Regions from separate parts of the Homo sapiens genome. Here regions 1 and 2 are each linked to region 3. Evidence: promoter capture Hi-C in human tissues and cell types (Jung and others, 2019). All regions are on one chromosome and are shown on one strand. Each heading gives the region's core, a stretch centred on a gene start or on the middle of the fragment in contact. The rest is flanking DNA. Distances are from core to core; before and after follow the strand shown. Region 1 holds the start of LOC124902670 (a long non-coding RNA gene). Region 2 overlaps CSTPP1 (centriolar satellite-associated tubulin polyglutamylase complex regulator 1). Region 3 holds the start of F2 (coagulation factor II, thrombin).

Region 1 (3,421 bases), core at 219-2,718, 280 kb after region 3:
TTTACTCTTTTTTCTCTAAACTTCTCTTCTTGCTTCATTTCATTCATTTGATCTTCAATCACTCTTACCCTTTTTTCCAGTTGATCAAATCGGCTACTGAAGCTTGTGTGTGTGTCACATAGTTCTTGTGCCATGGTTTTCAGCTCCATCAGGTCATTTAAGGTCTTTTCTACACTGGTTATTCTAGTTAGCCATTCGTCTAATCATTTTTCAAGGTTTTTAGCTTCTTTGCGATGGATTCGGACATCCTCCTTTAGCTCGGAGAAGTTTGTTATTACCTATCGTCTGAAGCCTTCTTCTCTCAACTCGTCAAAGTCGTTCTCCGTCCAGCTTTCCTCTGTTGCTGGCGAGGATCTGCGTTTCTTTGGAGAAAAGGCACTCTGATTTTTAGAATTTTCAGCTTTTCTGCTCTGGTTTCTCCCCATCTTTGTGGTTTTATCTACCTTTGGTCTTTGATGATGGTGACGTACAGATGGGGTTTTGGTGTGGATGCCCTTTCTGTTTGTTAGTTTTCCTTCTAACAGACAGGACCCTCAGCTGCAGGTCTGTTGGAGTTTGTTGGAGGTCCACTCCAGACCCTGTTTGCCTGGGTATCACCAGCGGAGGCTGCAGAACCGCAAATATTGCAGAGGAGCAAATGTAGTTGCCTGATCGTTCCTCTGGAAGCTTTGTCTCAGAGGGGCACCCAGCCGTATGAAGTGTCAGTCGGCCCCTACTGGGAGGTGCTTACCAGTTAGGCTACTCGGGGGTCAGGGACCCACTTGAGGAGGCAGTCTTTCCATTCTCAGATCTCAAACTCCGTGCTGGGAGATCCATTACCCTCTTCAAAGCTCCGTTGGAAATGCGGAAATCACCCGTCTTCTGCGTCGCTCACGCTGGGAGCTGTAGACTGGAGCTGTTCCTATTCGGCCATCTTGGAACCTCCCCTTTTCCTCCCTTTCTTGATTCTTTGTGGTAAAGCTCTATATTGTGCCATTTTAGAAGCTGTATACTGTGCGCCTTGCACTCCAAAAGTGAATTCCACTTGTTCTGTGTAGCCAATGCTGAGCTGTAGTGAACCAACAGTAAGGCTGACTGTAGGCAGCTTTTATCTACCAACACACTGTTGAAAAAAAATCGTAAGATTTTCTACAGTGCTGATAGAAATGTACTTGCCAAGCAGGCTGTTTCTTGTCCCCAGAAAGCTGAAATTTACATAATATACGAGTGACACATACCTGACACTTCCATAAGTCTATGACACCAGATTGGCTTGAGGTAAATTATTCTAAGAAGTGAAAAGTAAACCAGCTCCAGAAACTTTTGGGTTTTCTTTTTTTTTGAAGACCTGAAAGGTGTGGATGTATGACAGAATGGGAAATAGTGTAAGTATAATTTGGTAGACAAGGAGACCTGGATGATGGAAGCTCCTGAGTTTACTTTGTGAATTTGATTTAGTTAGTGAAAATCCTTCACTTTCAGGCTTCAGTTTTTTTGTTTTGTTTTTTTTTGTTTTTTGAGATGGAGTCTTGCTCTGTCGCCCAGGCTGGGGTGCAGTGGCGCGATCTCGGCTCACCGCAAGCTCCGCCTCTCAGGTTCACGACATTCTCCCGCCTCAGCCTCCCGAGTATCTGGGACTACAGGTGCCCGCCACATGCCCGGCTAATTTTTGTTTTTTGTATTTTTAGTAGAGAGGGGGCTTCACCGTGTTAGCCAGGATGGTCTCGATTTCCTGACCTTGTGATCCGCCTGCCTCGGCCTTCCAAAGTGCTGGGATTACAGGTGTGAGCCACCGCGCCTGGCCTCAGGCTTCAGTTTTGTATTGATTAATAAGAGAAACATAGTGAAGTGGAAAGAGCACTACCCTAGAAGGAAAAAGAGCTGCTTATTCTTCTAAGTCCTCACTCTATAACCCTGGGCAAATTTCTGAAATATGGGCTTCAGTTGCCTCATCTATGAAGTGGGTTTAATAAAGCCTTACATGATAATAATAATAATATAATAATTATATATTATAATATGCAGTTTTTACTAAACTAATACCATGTCTCAGCTACTACAATTCTTTGAGATGGGTACTATTATTATTGTTATCTCTGTTTTATAGAGGAGGAAGTGGATGCTCAGAAAGATTAAAATAGCTTCTTCAAGTTCACAAGCTGTTAAGTGACAGACTCAGGAATCAAGCCTCATCTGCAGTATTATAGAGTCCACTGTTCTCTACTGCCTCCAAGCCACTTTACTGCTTAATGTTGCTAGAGGGCTAACCAGATCATATTTGGAGGTTTCTTCTAGCTATAATTTCTACTATTTTTGAATTCTCCCTTATGAACTATACTTTGCAAGCTTATCACACAGCCTTAGCTGGTGACCTCAGTTTACTGCCATTTAAATGTTTAATATGGCCTTTTGGGGGATGCAACTAGAGCTGACTATAAAGAGCAGGAAGCATGATTTTCAAAAATATGTTAACGGTATCCTTCCATCTTACAGTTTCGAGTTCACATCTTGAGACTTTCATATATTTAGCCGTGGGTGATTTACCTTTAAACAGTGATAAAAGTACTCCTTGAAATTGTATTTGGAAGGCTTCTCTTCTGATTTTCTTCTCTGGGTCTGCTTGCCCTCTCACCTATGCTGTCTGTCACTCCTTGGTTGTTGGTGTTTTCAAACAAGTCCATGACTGTTCCAGCAAATCTGGATAAACTGTAAAACACAAGTGGCTGAACAGTACTTTGTGTATGTCTGCAAGACCATGAGCTCTGTAGATCATATTCCTCTGGACACTCTTGAAAGACGGATACTAAATCCCAGAGGATTTTCTTTTATGTTGTATGTAACCTCTACCTCTGAATGTTGTCCTTCAACCAGTGGAAGGTAAAAGAAATTAATATTTAGAGGTGCTACTCTAAGAATAGGCCAAATGTCAGCACTGGGTCAGGACCTCTGAAGAAATACATCCAAGAAAATGGGCGAGAGTAGCTCTAACTTAGAAACCACAGCAGAGTGTGACCAGATTCTTGTGGTAAAGATAAAATGAGAAATGTGGCTTTTTGAGACATTGGAAAATAATGATGAGAGAAAAACAGGATGAAATCTGAGAATTTGTATCAGAATTGGGAACCATTCTTCACAGGCTAAATTGATAGTTCCAACACTATGGCATCAGGGAGCTTGACTTCCACATACTAATATAGAAAAGAATAATATTCTGTGGTCTTGGTTGGTGGGCCCAGGAGAGCTCGCTTTTATGATCAAGTGTCTTGTTTTCGTTTTTTAAAGGATGATTTTAGTTTTTTGGTGAAGTTTTTATGATGACTGTTTTGGTTGCAAGGGAAAGAAGTACACAGACTACCTTTGGTTTATTTTAAGGATACGTGAGAATATGCAGCATTCATTTGTGAATTATTCATTCACAAATTACTTTTGGGCACCTACTCTG
Region 2 (3,680 bases), core at 50-2,549, 400 kb after region 3:
AGTAGGCCTTGTAGAGCTGCGGTGGGCTCCGCCCAGTTTGAGCTTCCCAGCCGCTCTGTTTACCTACTCAAGCCTCACCAAAGGCAGATGCCCCTCCCCCAGCCAGGCTGCCGCCTCGCAGATCAATCTCAGACTGCTGCGCTAGCAGTGAGCAAGGTTCTGTGGGCGTGGGACCTGCCAAGCTTGGCACAGGAGAGAATCACCTTGTCTGCCAGTTGCTAAGACCTTGGGAAAAGCACAGTATTTGGGCGGAGAGTGTCCCGTTTTTCCAGGTAGTCTGTCACGGCTCCCCTTGGCTAGGAAAGGGAACTCCCCGACCCCTTGTGCTTCCTGGGTGAGGCGACGCCCCACCCTGCTTCAGCTCGCCCTCCATGGGCTGCACCCACTGTCCAATGAGTCCCAGTGAGATGAACCAGGTACCTCAGTTGGAAATGCAGAAATCACCCATCTTCGGCATAGGTCATGCTGGGAGCTACAGAACGGAGCTGTTCCTATTCAGCCATCTTGGAACACTGCCCACTTCTTTTTTTTTTTTTTTTTTTTTTTTTTGAGATGGAGTTTCACTCTTGTTGCCCAGGCTGGAGTGCAATGGTGCGAGCTCGGCTCACCACAACCTCCACCTCCCGGGTTCAAGCAATTCTCCTGCCTCAGCCTCCCGAGTAGCTGGGATTACAGGCATGCACCACCACGCCCAGCTAATTTTGTATTTTTAGTAGAGACAGGGTTTCTCCACGTTGGTCAGGCTGGTCTCGAACTCCTGACCTCAGATGATCTGCCCACCTTGGCTTCCCAAAGTGCTGGGATTACAGGCGTGAGCCACCATGCCCGGCCTTATCCCCATCTTAATGATGATGGAATTGAAGCTCAAAAAATTTAAGTAACTAACTTGCCCCAGATCATTTGTCTAGTAACCAGTGGAGCTGAGCTATGAACCCAGAACCCAGGATTGACTAACTCCAAAAAATGTGCTTTCAACCATGAGGACAATCCTAAGAGTCACCTGAGCTATTTAATTAAATGTGGATTCTCACTCTCTTGACCCCAGGGATTCTGATTTTGCTTCTGTGGGTTTAGGGTACAGGTGATTCATGATCATATGTTGAGATGCATTGAGATATACTACATTGCTTTTAGGGTTTCACATCTGTATAGGGAGGCATAGGGATAAAATTCATTGAACGTTTTTTTAACTGTGTACTGTGTGCCAGTCCCCTTGATATGTATAAGCAAGTGAGATGGAGTCCCTACCCTCAAGACTTGGTCTAATGGGACCTTGGAACCCTGCCTTGACTCTGTCAGACTACCTCACTTGAGCAAGCCACTTACTCTTTAAGCCTTAGTTTCTCTATCTGTAAAATGGAGATAGTCAATTACTTACTTCAGAGCAAAAGGCCTGATCTATGATCCTGTGATTCCCAAGGCTCTTTTAAGTTGTGAAGTCACAGGGTGGACTAACTTCCAATGCTGAGAACAATGATGGGGTGGTGATGGGTCAGATAGACAAATAAATCAATAATTCAACCACCAATAAATAGTGGAATATGTAAAAGCATGCGCTTTGGAATCTGGCAGATCCATGATTCAAAGCTCGAATGTGCTTGCCTCTTGCTAGTTACGTAACTGGGCAAATTACTTCACTGCCCTGTGTCTGCAAGTAAAATGAGGACAGTACTTACCCTATAGGACTGCTGCGAGACATTCAATGAGAGTAATGATGCACAGCACTCAGTACAGCAGCTTAAAAACAGGTAACACCATGAAGCACTACAGAAGCAGTGATCAATAAATGGTTTAGAGACAGTAAACATCCAAAGACGCAGAAGAGTTTTACAGTTTTACAGCCTACTATTTTATAGTTTAAATTTGGTTACATTTTTTGTTGTTTTTAATATAACTTACATGGAAATCTTTTTAAAATGTATATGATACGTATACAGTGGCCTTCCCTGCCATCTTATGTAATTTAACTCCTCTAGGCATCTAAGCATCATCTTTGTCATCATAAATTATTTTACTCTGCTGGAAAAGATCATTGCCTTCAGGACCCACTGAAATGTACCCTAAATGTATCCAGATTATATTTAAAATATATTTTTCTGCCTCTCTGTTAGGTCATGTAGTTAATGCCTAATTATAGTTCTTTTTCCTCTCCTTGTTTACCCTGTCTAATCTGTATTGGGCTTAGAAACTAGTGGCCAAGCTTGTTAAAACTGCGAGTATAATCAGAGTATGTCTTGGAACCCTGTAAGTTAGCCACACGAGCTTTTGTATGTGGACTTCATGAAATCTTCTTGCCTACTTGGAGACTTATTGACATTTAGATATTTGGCATTGCCTATTAGTTAAGTTTTAAATTGACTAGATATTACTGTGTAAGGTACAGATACCTGAAAAAAAATTCCATTATTCTCAGCTTTGGAAGTTGATCCAATCTATGACTTCACAACTTAAAAGAGCCTTGGGAATCATGGGCTCATAGGTCTGGCCTTTTACTCTCAAGTAAATAGCAATTGATTATTATCTCTTTTTTACAGACAAAGAAATTGATCCCTAAGTGTAAGTAGCTTGTTCAAGTGAGGTAGTCTGGCAAAGTCAAGGCAGAGTTTCAAGTCTCCCAAGCCTGCCCTTCCGCTCTGCCACACTGTTCCCAGGAGGAAACAATCATCTTAGGCTGTAGAAAGGAAGGAAAACTATCAATAAATATGGTTAAAGATTAGAAAAATGGCCCAGCACGATGGCTAATGCCTATAATCCCAACACTTTGGGAGGATTGCATGAGCCCAGGAGTTTGAAACCAGCCTGGGCAACATAGTAAACACAGTGACATCCCTACAAAAAAAAAATTGCTGAGCATAGTGATATGTGCTTGTACTCTCAGCTACTCTGGAGACTGAAGCAGAAGGATCACTTCAGCCCAGGAATTCGAGGGTGCAATAAGCTATGATCACACCACTGTACTCTAGCCTGACAACAGAGCAAGACCCTGTCTCAAAAAAAAAAAAAAAAAAAAAAATATATATATATATATATATATATATATTAGAAAAATGAGATCTATGGAGGATATTGTAACTATTCAGTTCTATGCCCTTATTTTGATAGATGTTTTTCCTGTCACTCCTGCCCTCATTTGAAGGGGTTTATAACCTTAGTATGCCATCAGTGAGCCTGAACATCTCTATAAGGGAGGACCAAGGGGCATTATAATAAGATCCAAAAACATAGAATTATAAAAGATGATGATCTTTTCATCATGGATGAAACAAGGTGTAGGGAAGGAACTAAATGGCATTCAGGTGACTTAGAGGGGGAAGAAAGAGCCACTGAGAACGAGGGACATGGAAACAGGTTTCTGAAGGAAGATACATACTTGACCATCTCTGTGGATGGTTTCCTGCCTGCCGGCCTGCCATCCTTCCTTCCACAGCTTTGTTAAGATACAATTTATATACCATAAATCAAAATGGCTTTTTAAAAAATAAATCTTCTTAAATAATTCTTTTTTATTTTTTATTTTTTTTGAGGCAGAGTCTTGCTCTGTCACCCAGGCTGGAGTGCAGTGGCATGATCTCAGCTCACTGCAACCTCCGCCTCCCAGGTTCAAGCAGTTCTGCCTCAGCCTCCCTAATAGCTGGGATTACAGGTGTGCACCACTGTGCCTGGCTAATTTTTGTATTTTT
Region 3 (3,606 bases), core at 855-3,354:
AAACAAACAAAAAAACCCAACAGGTAGGTAGCAGTGGTTCACGCCTGTAATCCCCACTTTGGGAGGCTAAAGTGGGCAGATCACCTGAGGTCAGGAGTTCACGTCCAGCCTGGGCAACATGGTGAAACTCTGTCTCTACAAAAATACAAAAATTAGCCAGGCATGATGGCGGGTGCCTGTAGTTCCAGCTATTCGGGAGGCTGAGGCAGGAGAATCGCTTGAACCTAGGAGGTAGAGGTTGCAGTGAGCCGAGTTCACGCTATTGCACTCCAGCCTCCATCTCAAAAACAAAACAACAAAAACCCAAAATATATATTATAATTTTATTTTATTTATTCAATTTTATTTTATTTTATTTTATTTTTCTAGGAACAGGTCTCATTCAGGCCAGGCATGGTGGCTCACGCCTGTAATCCCAGCACTTGGGAGGCCGAGGTGGAGGTGGGCGGATCACCTGAGGTCAGGAGTTCGAGACCATCCTGGTCAATGTGGCGAAACCCCATCTCTACTAAAAATACAAAAATTAGCCAGGTGTGGTGGCACACGCCTGTAATTCCAGCTACTTGGGATACTGAGTCAGGAGAATCACTTGAACAGGGAGATGGAAATTGCAGTGAGCCGAGATTGTTCCACTGCACTCCAGCCTGGGTGACAGGGCGAGACTCCGTCTCAAAAAAAAAAAAAAAAAAGAAAGAAAGAAAGAAAGAAAGAAACAGGATCTTACTCTGTTACCCAGGCTGGAGTACAGTGGTGCAATCATAGCTCACTGCAGCCTGGAACTCCTGGGCTCAAGTGATCCTCCTGCCTCAGCCTCCTCAGTAGCTCAGACTGCAGGCATGCACCACCATTCCCAGCTAATTTTTAATTTTTTTTTGGTAGAGATGAGGGTCTTGCTATGTTGCCCAGGCTGGTCTCAAACTCCTGGCCTCAAGCGATCCTGCCATGTCGGCCTCCCAAAGTGTTGGGATTACAAGTGTGAGCCACTATGCCTGGCCTAAAAATATATATATGAAAATATATAAGAAATGGGCCTCCCAGGAATTAAGGTGTTTGCGGGAGTCCTGGTCCCCAGTTTTTCTGCCAACACTCCCTGTTCCCACACATGACCTGGTCCAGACCCCAAACAGCCAGGCCCAAAGGACAGGTGAGGCGAGGCGAGAACTTGTGCCTCCCCGTGTTCCTGCTCTTTGTCCCTCTGTCCTACTTAGACTAATATTTGCCTTGGGTACTGCAAACAGGAAATGGGGGAGGGACAGGAGTAGGGCGGAGGGTAGGGTAGGACCAGAAGCCTCTCTAGGCCTGCCATGGGGCAGGCAGCCAGGGAGAAGGAGGGCCCCTCAGTGGAGACCCAGGGATTTCAGTAGCCCCTGTTCCGGGACAGGCGCAGGTCCTGGGAGGTGACAGAAGATAGACTAAAGGCCCAAGAGTCCCTGGACCTGACTCCTCCCAGGCAGCTGCCACACACAAACACACCTCCAGGCACCCTGGACAGGAAGGAGGAGAAATGGGCCCCTCCTCCAGTGGCTGAGAAGCTGGGGCAAATGTTGGCTGTTCCTATCCCTGGTGCATCCCATGGCGAGGGGCAACTTCCATCAGGCCACACCTTTTATCTTTGTCTCTATTTTTGATATCTGTGTATTATGATTATACAAACCCCCACATTGGCCTATATGTGCAGATCTGATTAAGAACTTACGATATTCCATGGACATTCCATTCCTAATCTCCTTTAGTCCTCACAACAAAGTATTATTCCCATTGTATAGATGAGGAAACTGAGGCACACAGAGATGACAAGCAACCACCGCTATATGTTAGGATTCGAAGGAGCTCCAGGAAAGTCTCATAGCCCCACTGGCCAGAATGGGCTAAATCTCAGAGGGGGAGGGTGGGAGATGGGGGTGACAGTGACCTTTTTTGTGACTCCTCCTAGACCATCCATCCCTGCTCCCAGGAGGACCTGTCCTCCCAGATGGTGGAGATGGACAGGAGGACTATCTACCCACCCGTCCCCACGGCCCTGACCCTCTGACCTCACCCTCTCCGCTGATTTCTTCATGTTAGTTCAACATTAACCCAGAGGGGTCAGGACAGACAATTCCTCAGTGACCCAGGAGCTGACACACTATGGCGCACGTCCGAGGCTTGCAGCTGCCTGGCTGCCTGGCCCTGGCTGCCCTGTGTAGCCTTGTGCACAGCCAGCATGGTAAGGGAGTGCTTGCAGGCTGGAACAGGCTGGAGGACTGGGGTGTGGGCCCATGGGCTGGGGTCTCCTGGCTGGACAGAGCACACAGAGCTGGCCCCTAAGTAGGTCTCAGCCCCAGGCGGCCAGCTTAGGGAAGAAGTCAGGAGCTCAGGGCTGGAAAGAGAATGGCTGCTTCTCTCTTCCAATATAGGGAGCAGGCTGGGGGCAAGGGGCAGTGTAGGAGGGGCACAGGGGGCCACATTTAGCAGCCTTCCAGGCACTTCCACCAGCCCAGACAGCCTCTCTCAGAAGCCAGCAGGGGAGGGTGGGCTTGCTTCATGCCCCCAGAATGGCCAAGACTGCCTGTTCCTGAGGCCGCTGTCCCATGACCCCCCCACCGCCTTACAGTGTTCCTGGCTCCTCAGCAAGCACGGTCGCTGCTCCAGCGGGTCCGGCGAGCCAACACCTTCTTGGAGGAGGTGCGCAAGGGCAACCTGGAGCGAGAGTGCGTGGAGGAGACGTGCAGCTACGAGGAGGCCTTCGAGGCTCTGGAGTCCTCCACGGCTACGGTGAGCCTGGGCTGCTCGGACGGTGCCGGGGCCTCAGACCGGGCCCAACTCTAGACACTTCCACAGAGAAGCAAGCGAGGAACGCCACAGCCCCTTCGCTGCTCACAGCCTCATTTCAACTCTGAGCCCCTCCTCACAGGGCTGGCAAGAGGAGCGGCCTCAGCCTTTCCTGGGGGTCTCTGTGCCTGGACTGTGTCCCTGTGCAGCTCCATGACATGGGGAGGCCTCCACAGTCTTCAGACATCCACCTGCCCTGGAGCTCTGTGTCCACATGGCCTCCTCAGCGGCAGACTCCCACACCACCCTTGAGGGGTGGGACTCTGGGGAGGCCACCACAAGCCCCCGGGCTCAAGACTCAGTGTTCCTGGAGCTCTGTGTCGCCTTTCCTGTCTGTAGGGCTCTGCCAGGGTCCCACTGCCCCCTCTCCTCCCATCTCCCCCAGCCTCTTTCAGTCTCGGTGTGTGTGTTGGAGGAACTCCCCTATCCTCAAATATTCTTCTCCTTTTGGAAACAAAAGTAGGAAACTCTGCCACAAACCTCCCCAGAGCCTGCCCCCTGCGTGACCAGGGTAAAGGAAAGTGTGAGGAGGAGACATAACATTTACTAAAACAACACAAAACAGGAGCTGCCGTAGCCTCACTCCCAGCCCTTGTTTTTCAGGATGTGTTCTGGGCCAAGTACACAGGTGAGCACCGGGAAGGATTTGCCCCAGGAAGGGAGGCCTGGGGACCCCAGTGAGAGAATTCTACCCAGAGAATCTTCTGCTGCACCTAGCCATCCACCCATCCACCCCTTCCCCACTCCTTCCTTGGTCCCTCCCATCTGTTCATCCATCTTTCTGTTTCTCACCAA

Evidence for each region. The method cuts DNA at HindIII sites, captures the fragments that hold promoters and counts their contacts. A contact is called where the count stands out against the background at its distance.
Region 1: a fragment that was not itself captured here is called in contact with the fragment with the promoter of F2 in region 3 in 1 of the 25 tissues and cell types used here (dorsolateral prefrontal cortex).
Region 2: a contact is called between a fragment that was not itself captured here and the fragment with the promoter of F2 in region 3, in 3 of the 25 tissues and cell types used here (aorta, hippocampus and spleen).

What each region holds. Positions count from the first base shown.
Region 1 is chr11:46,997,257-47,000,677 of GRCh38, forward strand. The region is part of intron 2 of CSTPP1 (centriolar satellite-associated tubulin polyglutamylase complex regulator 1); the gene reads left to right. It overlaps LOC124902670 (a long non-coding RNA gene), which reads left to right and starts at 1,720. Exons shown (of 2, transcript XR_007062665.1): 1 at 1,720-3,421. The HindIII fragment of the contact is 3,277 bases long and covers 1-3,107 here.
Region 2 is chr11:47,119,080-47,122,759 of GRCh38, forward strand. All of the region lies in intron 3 of CSTPP1 (centriolar satellite-associated tubulin polyglutamylase complex regulator 1), which reads left to right. Among named protein-coding and RNA genes, the nearest start is that of ARFGAP2, 56 kb to the right of the region's middle. The HindIII fragment of the contact is 3,678 bases long and covers 1-3,138 here.
Region 3 is chr11:46,717,109-46,720,714 of GRCh38, forward strand. F2 (coagulation factor II, thrombin) reads left to right here and starts at 2,105. Exons shown (of 14, transcript NM_000506.5): 1 at 2,105-2,206; 2 at 2,594-2,754; 3 at 3,415-3,439. The coding sequence starts at 2,128. The HindIII fragment of the contact is 9,646 bases long and covers 1-3,606 here.